2 separate regions of the Homo sapiens genome follow, and region 2 is linked to region 1. The links are contacts of gene promoters, found by promoter capture Hi-C in human tissues and cell types (Jung and others, 2019). All regions are on one chromosome and are shown on one strand. The core of a region is centred on a gene start or on the middle of the fragment in contact, and the rest is flanking DNA. Distances in the headings are between cores, read along the strand shown. Region 1 holds the start of ADAM12 (ADAM metallopeptidase domain 12). Region 2 overlaps C10orf90 (chromosome 10 open reading frame 90).

Region 1 (5,870 bases), core at 1,438-3,937:
AATGGCTGTTTTCTTTCGTTCAGTCAGAAACAAATCAAGGACAGTCTTGGGGCACATTTAGTTCTTTGGAGGAAGCTTTGCAACATCCAGGTTTAAAAGAAATTGGACTTTTACAGTCAACATTAACAATTGAATATGAAAGAGCGAAAATAAATTGATCATTAAGAGAAAATGTATACAAGGCCCCCAGCCCAGTGCACAGCACATGTTAGGTCCATTGTGAATAAACCATTTAACCAGTCAGAAGGATCCGAGAGGCCAGTGGCTGGGCTCATCTGCAAGCAAATCTGGCCCTTTGAGCTGGAAGAAAACAATTTTTAATTCTCTTGCGTCGATGTGTCTGAAGTTCTATGGGCCACAAGTATCAGGATCACCTAAGTACTTGCTAAAACTTGTCCTTCCCAGACCTTTCTAATGAGAATCTCCAGTGCAAACGCCAGAGGAATTGAATTCTTAACAGACATCCCAGGGATCAGGTGGGTTGGGAGACATTGCATTATTTCACCTGGTGCTCACAACCACCTGGGAGGTTTGTATTTTACCTTCACTTAACAGCTGCTAAAACTGAAGGTTGGAACTCAGCCTTAAAGAAACAGGCTTTATCTTTAACAGATCTGAGGTTGGGCTCTGACCTACTTCACTGTGTGGTGGTGGGAAAGCTACATCTCTATGCTGCAGTTTCCTCATCTGTATATTCAGGACTTAAAAAATGAAATAATGCAGGTGAAAGACGTTAGCACAATACTCCGATTATACGAGGTATGTAATGAATTATGAAGTAGTAAATAGTCTGTTTTCGTGCTGCTGATAAAGACATACACAAGACTGGGTAAAATTATACAGGAAAAACGTTTAATGGACCTACATTTCCACATGGCTAGGGCAGAAGACATGAAGGGGCAAGTCATGTCTTACATGGATGGTAGCAGGCAGAAAGTGAGAGAGAGCTTGTGGAGGGGAACTCCTCTTTTTAAAACCATCAGATCTTTTGAGACTTATCCACTACCATGAGAACAGCACAGGAAAGACCTGCCCCCATGATTCAATTACCTCCCACCAGGTCCCTCCCACAACACATGGGAATTCAAGATGAGATTTGGGTGGGGACACAGCCAAACCATATCAGTAAACAAGCCTAATCATTATTAACTAGGTTAAGTAACTAGCTCACACTGTCCAATAATGATGATTTATCAGTTTGATCAGAAAGAAAAGTCTTTGAAGGCAAGAGGCTTTCTCGTTTAGTTTCCCAAGTTCTAACATAGGGTTGCTCATGTAGATTGACTGAATGAATGAACAAAAGAAGTACACTGCAACGCTGGTTGGTAGTACGGTTAGATATGACACAGGGCTTGAACCAGGCCTGGTTTCCAGATCTGGTACTGAGATATGGCAGCATTGGGAAGGGGGCTGGAGAGCCTGTGCTTCCCACTAAGGTTTTTTAAAAAGAAAGTCCTGCACCTTGTTAGGAGGATCGACCTGGGTTTTGGGAACACTGCAAAACCTGCCGTGGGAGGGAACTCCTGAGAAAACTCCTCTGCAGTGGGAAGAGATGGTATGGAAGGCAGCTTCCTCAAATGCTGGATAACCGCCTCCTAGGAGTGGGTGCTCCGTCAGGAATCGGTGCGAGGTCGCAGGACCAGGATGGAATTTCTGCAGGTGGTCCTAGGTCTGAGCAGCACAGTAGAATCACCTGAGGCTTTGAAAACTATTGAGCTCCACGCATTGTGGGAAACTGAGTTAACTGGTGTCTGGGGCTGGCAATGTCTTTAACTCTTACTATTCTAATAAGTCCCCAAGGTTGGGAATCATGGTAACCCGCAGGGTGGGCATCAGCCATCCTCCATAGCTCCAGCCATTTCTGTCTGTGCGGGCCCCCTCGCTGCTGCTTTTCATGGTCTCCCTGAGGGCCGAGCGAGGCTGAAGAGGTGGGGTCAGCCCGGAACAAGGATGAGAAGGCAAGGCGCACCATTCTTTCATTGGTGTTTCTCCAAACACCCTGGGCTCCCCTGGCCTCACAGCCTGGAGAGTCTCATTCTGAAAGCGTAGGAGGGCGCCCGGGAATCTTTTTAACAAGCCAACCCAGGTGCTTCTTACAATCAGGAAAGTTTGGGGAACGTCACTGTACACCCTTTTCTGGGTCCAGGTCATGGAATGGAAACGTGAGCCAATCTATCAACGTAAAACCTAACACTGTTGATCAAAAGTAACGCCCAGGTGTCTTGTGCCTGCGAGTCCAAGCTTGTTTCTCGGGCGAGAGATGCCCCTTTGGGCGCTTAGGGCCGGGCGGGGTCGCGCGCCGGGCTGTGGGCCGCGGTGGAGACCTGACCCGCACTCCGAGGGTTCCCAGAGAGCCGGGGAGCGAGTAGCAGAGTCATCGTTTCCAGCTTCAGCCTGAAAAGCTGGACCGTGCCGCCGCATGTGCGCTTGGCAGCCGGGCGCCCCGGGCCCTGCGGCCACATCATCCTGGGGCGGGGACGTGTGCGCTCCGGGCGCCCGGACGCCACTGAGCCACGTCTGAGCCGCCCACCCTCGGGGGTGAGCGAGCCGCGGCTCGGGGCGGGACCCTGGCGGGGGGACCCGAGCGGTCTCTAGGACCCGCGGGACGCCGCCAACTGGCGGGGGTGCGGGGGAGACAATAATTTGTTCCGCGGTAATAAGAACGGTGACTGCTGGCCGTGGATCCATTTCACAGGCCTGCCTTCTCTCACTAACGCTCTTCCTAGTCCCCGGGCCAACTCGGACAGTTTGCTCATTTATTGCAACGGTCAAGGCTGGCTTGTGCCAGAACGGCGCGCGCGCGCGCACGCACGCACACACACGGGGGGAAACTTTTTTAAAAATGAAAGGCTAGAAGAGCTCAGCGGCGGCGCGGGCGCTGCGCGAGGGCTCCGGAGCTGACTCGCCGAGGCAGGAAATCCCTCCGGTCGCGACGCCCGGCCCCGGCTCGGCGCCCGCGTGGGATGGTGCAGCGCTCGCCGCCGGGCCCGAGAGCTGCTGCACTGAAGGCCGGCGACGATGGCAGCGCGCCCGCTGCCCGTGTCCCCCGCCCGCGCCCTCCTGCTCGCCCTGGCCGGTGCTCTGCTCGCGCCCTGCGAGGCCCGAGGTAAGTCGCCGAACTAGGGCGGCTCGCTGCCCGCCCCGCCGAGGGCACCGCACGCTGCGCCTGGGCGCGCCGAGGTCCAGGGCTGCCCCGAGGGGCGACGCGCCCCGGCGCATCTCCGGAGCCCCGGGGCTTGCGCTTCCAGCGCGGCGAGACCGACCCCCCCCCCCCAGGTGCCAATTCCTTGGGGAAGGGCGACACTTGGCCCGCAGCCCCACAGGAGCCAGTACCTGCCCCGGAGGGCACAGCCTCGGGACCGCTCCCCCGTCCTCACCCTCTTGGGTGACATTTGCAGATGTCTCTGTATCTTGACATTTACACGTGTCACTCGGGACGATGCGTGTCGGGTCCTCTTGCTGGCCCTATCCCGCAGTGAATATCCCCACCCCAGGCTCCGGGCCAGCCCTTCACCAGGTTTCCTTTCCAGCCCCGCCTCCCCCGCTAACACACTTAGGGGGGCGCGCAGCGGCCCCGCAGGTGAGGCAGCCCCCTCCTCCGCAGGTGTGCCTGCTGCTCTCCACAGCAGGCTCTATTTTCATAAACTGACTCTCTTACCTACTTCTTTAGTTTCCTCTCTGCCCCTCTTCCTGGCTTCCAGGTCACTCCCTAGCTGTCAGTCGCAGGCAAACTTTAGCGGAATTCTCCCTCCTTCCTCCACTCAGTTTCTCCGCCGTAAATAATCGCCCCCATCAACTTGGTGCACAGCGAGAACTTACTTAGTTTAACGTACTTAGTTTTACAGACTTAGGTTTTCCCGAGTTGTAGCCCCTTAAAATCGGGCACCTGTGGCTCCCGTTTGCACAGTGAGGACTCACCCAGCAGGTGCCTTTTTAAAAATCCGGCAACTTCCCCGGGTCTCCGCCGCCGCCGCCTTCTTTCTGCCGCCCGGGGCGCTGTCGGTCCACCGATGAACGACTTCCCTTGGCCGCAAGCTCTCAAGTTCTGTGATTCTATATAACAGGCATTTATTTTTCAACAACTGGCCTAAATCACGAACCGTTACCACTTTATGATACGTTTTATTTTGCGATTGCCACTGCTGCCCTCCGCCCCCACCGCGTCTACTGTAATGTGGCTAAAACCCAGTTCTTGTTAAAAGCCACACTGCGAAGACCAATTCGGGGATAAATGATTAAATACAAAGATTGCACAAAGCAATGAGAAAGTCAAGAAAGAATCCTGCTGAGGGTTTAAAGAACTCTACGACCTGTAGTGAATTGTGCTTTGAAAGACTTTTAAACAAATTGGTCCTTTTGAATGTTTATTAAGAAAGAACTTTTTAAAAAACGGAAAGTGTCTCAAAGTGTGCCTGACATGGTCTTTAACTTGGCACGTGCTTTGTACACATAAAGAGAAGTCTACTGAGCAGGGACAAATTTTTTTTTTGGAAGAAAATGTTTATTAAATCCAGCTAATAATGGGAAATTATTTCTTGTGTGTGTGGGCGGGGGAGGACTTTTACTATTTTATGAGTTCAGCTTTGGTAGAGAGAGTGTTTCCTTAAGACAGATATGACCCAAAATAGAAAACCAGGGAGGCCTAAGCACTTTGAATGGGTTACCTATTGTGATATATTCCAGGATTCACTGCTTGTTTACCCTTAGATTCTCAGTATCAAGTCTTCAATCAATCAGTGCCCCAAATCATACCATTGAGGCCGTATAAAACGCCAAACATATAATGAAACATTTCTTTGCATTGGCAAGAGAAAAGGAGGAATTACTACCTGTTGAGTCTGAGCATATTCTGAGTTTCTCCCTAGCCTTGTCTGTACCCTGAGCCCTGGCACAGTTGCCTACTTGGTACTTTCTGGGGCAACTCGGCCTAACAAGTCCAAAACAGAACCCTAGATCCCAGACTCTCTAGTTGCAAATCATTCCCTCCCCAGCCTTCCTGAACCCAGTAACAACCTCCTCTGCCTTCTCCACATGCCTTGTGCTGACATGCAGGAAGTCATCCCTGTGTCCCTCTTTTTACTCCGTAAGCCACCAACCTCCTAAGTATATTCCCACCTACCCACTTCCTTACATCCCGAAGTGTGCCTTTCCCAGTCCAGGCCACATTATAGGAAAAATCTCTTCTGCAGAAGCCTCTTATCCCTCTTACCCAACGGGCCTACTGGCTTTTCACCTTATCCCTGCATGGTATATTTTCCTCCACAATAGAGCCAAAGTTATTATTTTCAAACATGAGTTAGAGCATTCAAGTTTCCTGTCTAAAACTCCCCAGTGGCTCTCTAGCACCCTTAGGAAAGAAAATCCAAACCTCAGCATGACCTAATTCCTGTTTTCCTTTCTGATCTCCTTTCTTACCATTCTCCCTTTGCTCACCCTACTCCAGACACACTGCCTTCTCTTCTTTTCAACTACCCAATATAGTAGTGCCATCATTAAAAAAAAATTCAATGTTTGCACTAAGAAGACTTTGCAAATACTTTTCACTGTTTTGCCGTGCAGTGTTTTATGGCATTTCATCCCTCTTGTAACTTTTTGCTTTTCCTAGAGTTAATGATTGCCTTGTCTTGATTTTTGTTTGCTTTATTTTCTGTGCACCAAGCTGTGATATTGTGATATAATAAGAAATATGTCTCTGCCCCTGGTTCCTGGCACAGAACTCCTAAAATCCTTGGAATCTCTGGGGTATTAAGAGTGTCTTTTGTATGCTAATGAGCTTGTTAAGGCATGATTAGAGTTGGGACTTTTAGTGCCACCTCCCTTGCAACCTCCAGGGAGGGGAGACGGATTGAAGGTTGACTTGATCGCCAATG
Region 2 (5,870 bases), core at 1,969-4,468, 45 kb before region 1:
ATGTGCTCATTGCAGAAAATAGTCTGTACCACTTTGTCAGCCACTGCTGAGCTCCCCTAGGAGGAAATGCATGTTTTGGGCAACTGACAGGAGTCCTCCGCTGGGATTCATATTGTAAGTTTCTGGTCTTGGGTAAGAGTCTGGTTAGTTTGAGAGTCTCTGATCCTGTCAACATTGGGGTACTGAATTTGCACAGGTAGAGCTGGTTGTTCCGTGGGTCTTTGGCACTACGGGCAACCTGAATTAGGAGGTGATGTGTGCCAGCCTTCCTTAGCAGTTCCTATAGGTTTTATGGGGAACCCTTTGTCTCTTACTGGATCTCTTGAGGAGTAACCAGCCAAGAAATAAAAATATTAAGCACTGGGTCTCTTTTGACCATAGGGATGGAGTGCAAGTGGGAAAAGGCAGGGATATTAGGGGCTGAGAAGAGACTTTCCTGTCTTCCAGGAGTTCATGTGCCACTTGGGGAGAGAGTTGGCCAGGCAGACAGCTGTAAACCACGTCTAGAATCATAAAGGAGAAGACCCCTAGGGAGTCAGGAAGTGAAGGGGACTGAGGACAGTGCTCTTGGATCCAAGAGATAGAGCAGCATGGGCTCAGGGAGTACATCAAGACTCCATTTCTCTCCAAAAATGTTTTTCATAGATATGGTTGACTTGGAGGTCTGGGATCCTCCAGCTGGGGAAGCAAAGCTCTGGTCCTGTGCCTCATCTGCCATATTGTATCAGGGGTCTCTCCTTGGAAGATCTGGGGAGGCTTGTGGCTGCCAGTGTTCATGGTGGGGCGTTCTCTTCACCACCTCCCCACCAAGGGTGCAGACCCTTTATGAAATCCATCCAGTAGCTCCAAAGCACCCTATCTTTCCATGGAAGCTGCAAGATGGTGACCTGACTCTGAGCTCAAGCTCAAGGGTAAGTCTCTGTGTGCAAGAGAATGATCTACCTTCCTTAACCAGGAAGCCCTATACACCTTGCTTCTCAAACTGAGTATGCAAAAGGAAACAGATTTTTCTGGAGACTCTCTGGCTTATTTTTTATTTAATTTTATATTCCTTCACCAGAAAGGTCTGAGAGCTTATTGTCTTTCCAGATTGTTACATCAGCAACTCTCTCATGTGTCTGGACAGTAATTGGCACATGGCATCACTTTCATATCAATACCAACAACTGTGTGGCTTCCACTTACCTGACAGGGTTCTGAAACAAGCTGCTATGTGCAACGGTCATTCAGCAGTGGGATTCCACAGATGGCTAGAAGTGATTTTAGAAACAGGATAATGTTTAGAAAATGAGAGTCCAGCATAAGATTTTATCATGAGAGCACTTCAGAGCCAAACCACCTATGAGTCGTTAACTCACCTTCATATGGTGTAACCTGTGCTGTTTAATTTCTGGAGGGCTAATTTGGTTCAAGATAGACCACTCTCCTATTGCCTACATCAAGAAAATTAGAGGGTCCACCATGGTGAGCTGAACAGAAATGTTCAAGTTTAAACCCTGAGAACCGTGATGGAATTACTCTAACGGCCGGCGGCAGAGACCTAGTGACTTTGGAATTGCATAATGCACAGCCTTGTGATCTTAGAATTCACACATGTTGGGGGTTCCCTTAAACACAACCCATTTCCATTCTTTGTGAAGGTCCAATCTTTAGTAGGAGATTCAGGAAGGTAGAGACTTGACGTCTATACTCCAGGCTGGCTTATTGACTCCCTGCTGAATTCTCTCCAACGGGTATCTCTTGGTTTTGGTGTTTCTAAGATAGGGGAAGCAAATGTCTAAAACATCCTTCAAAGTGCTCGGGGTGACTTCAGAAAATAGGCTTCTGGAAAGCATTGTCCTAATAAATCGTGTGAACTTGATTATCATTTAGATTACCTCTTCAGTAGGGAAAATGAAGTTTGCAATCAGAGCTGTAGATAAGGGCTCTGCATGGAGGAAAAACAGCCCAGCTCCAAAAACAACGAATCATGCTGGTGGCAGGGTGATCTTTGCTGCCTTCTGGTGACACTGTCAACTGTCTGAATATTGAGGCCACTTGTCCTTGTGTATGTGTGTGCACAGAGGTGATATGAGGATTACAATAAACACCCACATGTGTTTATAGAGATTAATGGGATGTCTGGGCTTTGACCTTACCTGAGTAGTTCTCAGAAGCACTGAAATCTTGGTACCTGGTTGTTTGCTGACTTTGACACAGGCAAGGGCTTGAGGAAGTCTGGCCTTACCAAGTTAAATTAGCAATAGACACTGTAGTTTGGATCCAATAATGAGGCAGATGCAAGACTTTTTGGGGAAAAAAGTATTTTCCAGAAATATAGAAATAGGCAATTTACCTTAGTAATTTTACTGGGGGAAAACACCACCTCTATTTGAATGATAATTCGAGGTAAACACAACTGTAGTCTCTTCCCTCCATATCAGGGAATTAGAACACATGAAACTTCAAGGAAAATCTGTAAGAGACCCATAAGCAAGCTGAAAATGGTTCTCACCTGCCACTTTAATTTTATACAGGCAGAATTTCCATTAAGAGTAATTTTATAGATAGGATTTCTCTGTTTTGTTTTGTTTTGTTTTCGTTTTGTTTTGTTTTGTTTTCAAACAAAGCTCATGCAGGTTGGTTTTGCATTCCATGAAGTGAAATCCCTGTGGGTCATGCTGTACATATCCTGAAGGCAATTGCGCCAGGCCGGGGAAGATGGTGGCGTGCAGGTAGTCATGAGAGTCTTCTACCCTGTACAGGAAGAAACTGAGTTGTGGGACCAGGAGAGATGAATCAAGGATGACTCATCTCTTGCTGCAGGCAGGTCTATGTGACCCTGGGCTGCCGTTTCACCCACCCCTACCAACCACAGGCTATTGGGGTATGTCTCTCTCTACTTCATGACCCAGCTCAGCTGTCTCCTGTTATGGAGTTTTCCCAGATGCCCTTCTTCCCTGGTGGACCTGACCACTCCCTCCTGATGTCTCCCCTCACCATGTGCAGACTTTGCTCTTGGCATCTAAAGGCCTTATTTACCTCATTCTCATCCTGGGCTCTGAGCTCTTAGTTTTATTTATCTTCATGTCCCTATCGCTTAGCACCAAGGAGATAAAAACTTTACAATTGTCAAATGAATGGGTTTGCTTAAACCCAAAGCCTGGGAGTCATCCTTGATTCATCTCTCCTGGCCCTTACAACTCAGTTTCTACCTGTACAGGGTAGAAGAGTCCCATGGCTACCTGCACGCTGCCATCTTTCCCCACCTGGCTGCAATTGCCTGACCTATCTCACTGCTGCCATTTTTGCATCTCCTCCACCCAGTTCATGTTCTGAAGAGCCACTGTGGTCATCTTTTAGCAATAAAAATCAGATCTCATGTTTAAAACTCCACATGGCTCTCCAACTCTCTTACTCTGAAGGCAACTCCTTAACAGGATTGCAAAGCTCCTTAAATAGGTTTGCAAAGGCCAACGTGGGTGGTTTCCTATTCTAGGGCATGTTGGAGTCATCTGGAGACTTTGGTTGAGATTCCAATGCCAACACACAGGAATCTTTGCCAAAATCCCCAGGCAGCTGTAAGGCATCACCTGGGTGGAGAACCAAAGTAATCTTCGCTCTCGCCTCTGCACCCTCCCTCCCCGCACAGCCACGATGACCCACTTTCAGTTCTTACTGCAGAAGCTCACTGTGCCCTTCTCCCAGATCCTCCCACAGTTGGCTCTTTGGTCATTCGGGTCTTGGTTTAAATATCTCCTCCCCTGCGGGGACTTCTTGCCTCTCCATTCCCCCTTTGACACATGGTGGCATTTCATTTTCACCAGAGCATTTGCCGGATACTTTAGCTGGTTTTTGACTTGTCCAGCTTCTCCCAAAATAAATGAAATCTCATGAAGGGACGGTCTTATCTGTTATTTTTGTTTCTGAGCATCCCCTACCAACATAACTGCTCGTTAAATGTAGAAGGAAGGAGAAAGGCATATCTAAGAAATGAATTTTGGATTGGTCTCATGGGAAATGGAGGAGTTCTTGGTCAGGGCTCCCAAAACACAATTTCTGCAACCACGAGCCACTTTCTCTCTCAAAGTGCCCAAAGCTGCTCCAGTGAGTTGTGTTCCTCTCACTCAAGTGAGGTTGGGAGCTGTTTGCAATGCACTTGCTCTATTTCAAACCACTTCCTCATGTCTCTTTCCTCCAGGCTAGGAAAGACCCTGCTATTTATCAGATGAGCTTGGGAACCATTAGGAAAACTCAAAGTCAGAAGCAATCAACCTGCAAATACTTCCCCGGGGGTATGGGTTGAGGTCACCAGCAGGGGAAGCCCCCTTGGACACAGTCCTGCTTGTTTTGCACCTAACATGGGCTGCTGGGCCCAGAATCAAAAGTTCTGTGTGGCACAGCAGGCTGAGCCGAGTTGAGGAAACACAAGAGTGGAGGTGTCAGAGAGCTCACATTTGCTGTTGTTTCCTCTTGGGAATCAAACCCAAGCTTAATTGTGGTATCAGGTGCTCTAAAGAAACAAACTGAAAAAAAAAGAAAGAAAAGAAAATCTAACTTCCCAGAGTAGACCACAAACAGTTGAACCAAGATGATCAAAATCTTACAAAGGGTATTGGTAATGTTTTTAATCTCCTCAGGACACCGTCTGTCTACCCTGGCCTCACCCTAATCTTGAGTAGCCCATGAGGATTGCTGAGCTGGACTTGAATCTAATTCTTTGTACAAGGTTTCTTTTCCCTAAGTGGAATAAGTGACTGTCAAGAGTCACATATTTGCTTGAGCAAGGGCCTGACTGATGGAAGCTGACATTTCCTTTTTTCTTGGAAATGCCATTGGGATGTTTCTGTGGCCCTTGGCTCTGACCTGGTGCTGCCTGGAGCAGGGACCGCTGGATACTGGGAAGCATCTTGGCCCATTGCAGTCTCCATGGTGATGTTGTTTTCTCACTGCTCCTTCTTACAAATTGCTCTAGGGAAAGCTGGGAGATTTCCTTGTCCTTAGAGGCCTCATACCTAGTGTAGGGATTTTTCTATGAGAGGAGTGACCTTGCACCCTGGCACTTCTCTCCAGAAGACCATGATTCTGTTGCTAAAAAGAAGCATTCAAAGGCATTGTTCTCCATAAAGTAAGTTAAGTGCTAACACTGTACTTCACACCCTTATTTAATTTGTCAAGATTAACCTTGTTTTTGGTCAGTTGTCAATACAGCCACTTAGTTGGAAATATTCCAATTTCTTTTTCTTGTTTCTCCTTTCAATCTTGTCTTTGAAGTTAAGCGATGGTGCCATATTCTTTTTCATGTCTGAATAACCAGACAGGGGACAAGCTTAGCCACTCTGTTGTTTTCCATATTATAAGTCAGTAGCTGTGTTATGTTTCTCCAGAGAGGAAGAAATTTCTTAGGATCCTTGGCTCTATCCTACCTTCTTAGATATTCCTAGAAAATTCTGTCTATTCTCAAGCCTGAGAAATATTTGGTTGCTCCACTGGATTGATGAGCAAAGGGACAGGCCTGGGTTGGAGGAGATGAATAGAAACAGACCCAGGACTTCACTGGGGATCGCAGGAGCCCCACTCCAACTCTGATGCTTGGCAAGGAGCCAAGTTGCCTGTCTGCTTCTGCTGAATGAGCAGGTTACTGCCCAGGTGTTTTAGGAAGCACGGCAGTTGCTGAAACACACCCCCATGCAACAAGCACCCCAGGAGCATTTACATATGCCAGACCCTTTATTAATCTACATGGCCAAGTGTCTCATGGGAATTTGAGTTATTGGAACAGTCCCTTTTCAACTTTTGCAAGAGGATATACACTGTTTTTTTTAACACACACCACTTTTAAGTGTGCCATCTGTGAACATCATTATGAATATGTACTTAGAATGAAAAAG

The links. Contacts are between HindIII fragments. The study calls those that stand out against the background at their distance.
Region 2: a contact is called between a fragment that was not itself captured here and the fragment with the promoter of ADAM12 in region 1, in 2 of the 25 tissues and cell types used here (bladder and dorsolateral prefrontal cortex).

What each region holds. Positions count from the first base shown.
Region 1 is chr10:126,385,294-126,391,163 of GRCh38, reverse strand. It overlaps ADAM12 (ADAM metallopeptidase domain 12), which reads left to right and starts at 2,687. Exons shown (of 23, transcript NM_001288973.2): 1 at 2,687-3,106. The coding sequence starts at 3,019. The HindIII fragment of the contact is 8,947 bases long and covers 1,159-5,870 here.
Region 2 is chr10:126,430,442-126,436,311 of GRCh38, reverse strand. All of the region lies in intron 7 of C10orf90 (chromosome 10 open reading frame 90), which reads left to right. It overlaps LOC728158 (a long non-coding RNA gene), which reads right to left. Exons shown (of 7, transcript NR_148989.1): 2 at 2,495-2,736; 3 at 1,186-1,250. Among named protein-coding and RNA genes, the nearest start is that of LINC00601, 11 kb to the right of the region's middle. The HindIII fragment of the contact is 3,343 bases long and covers 1,547-4,889 here.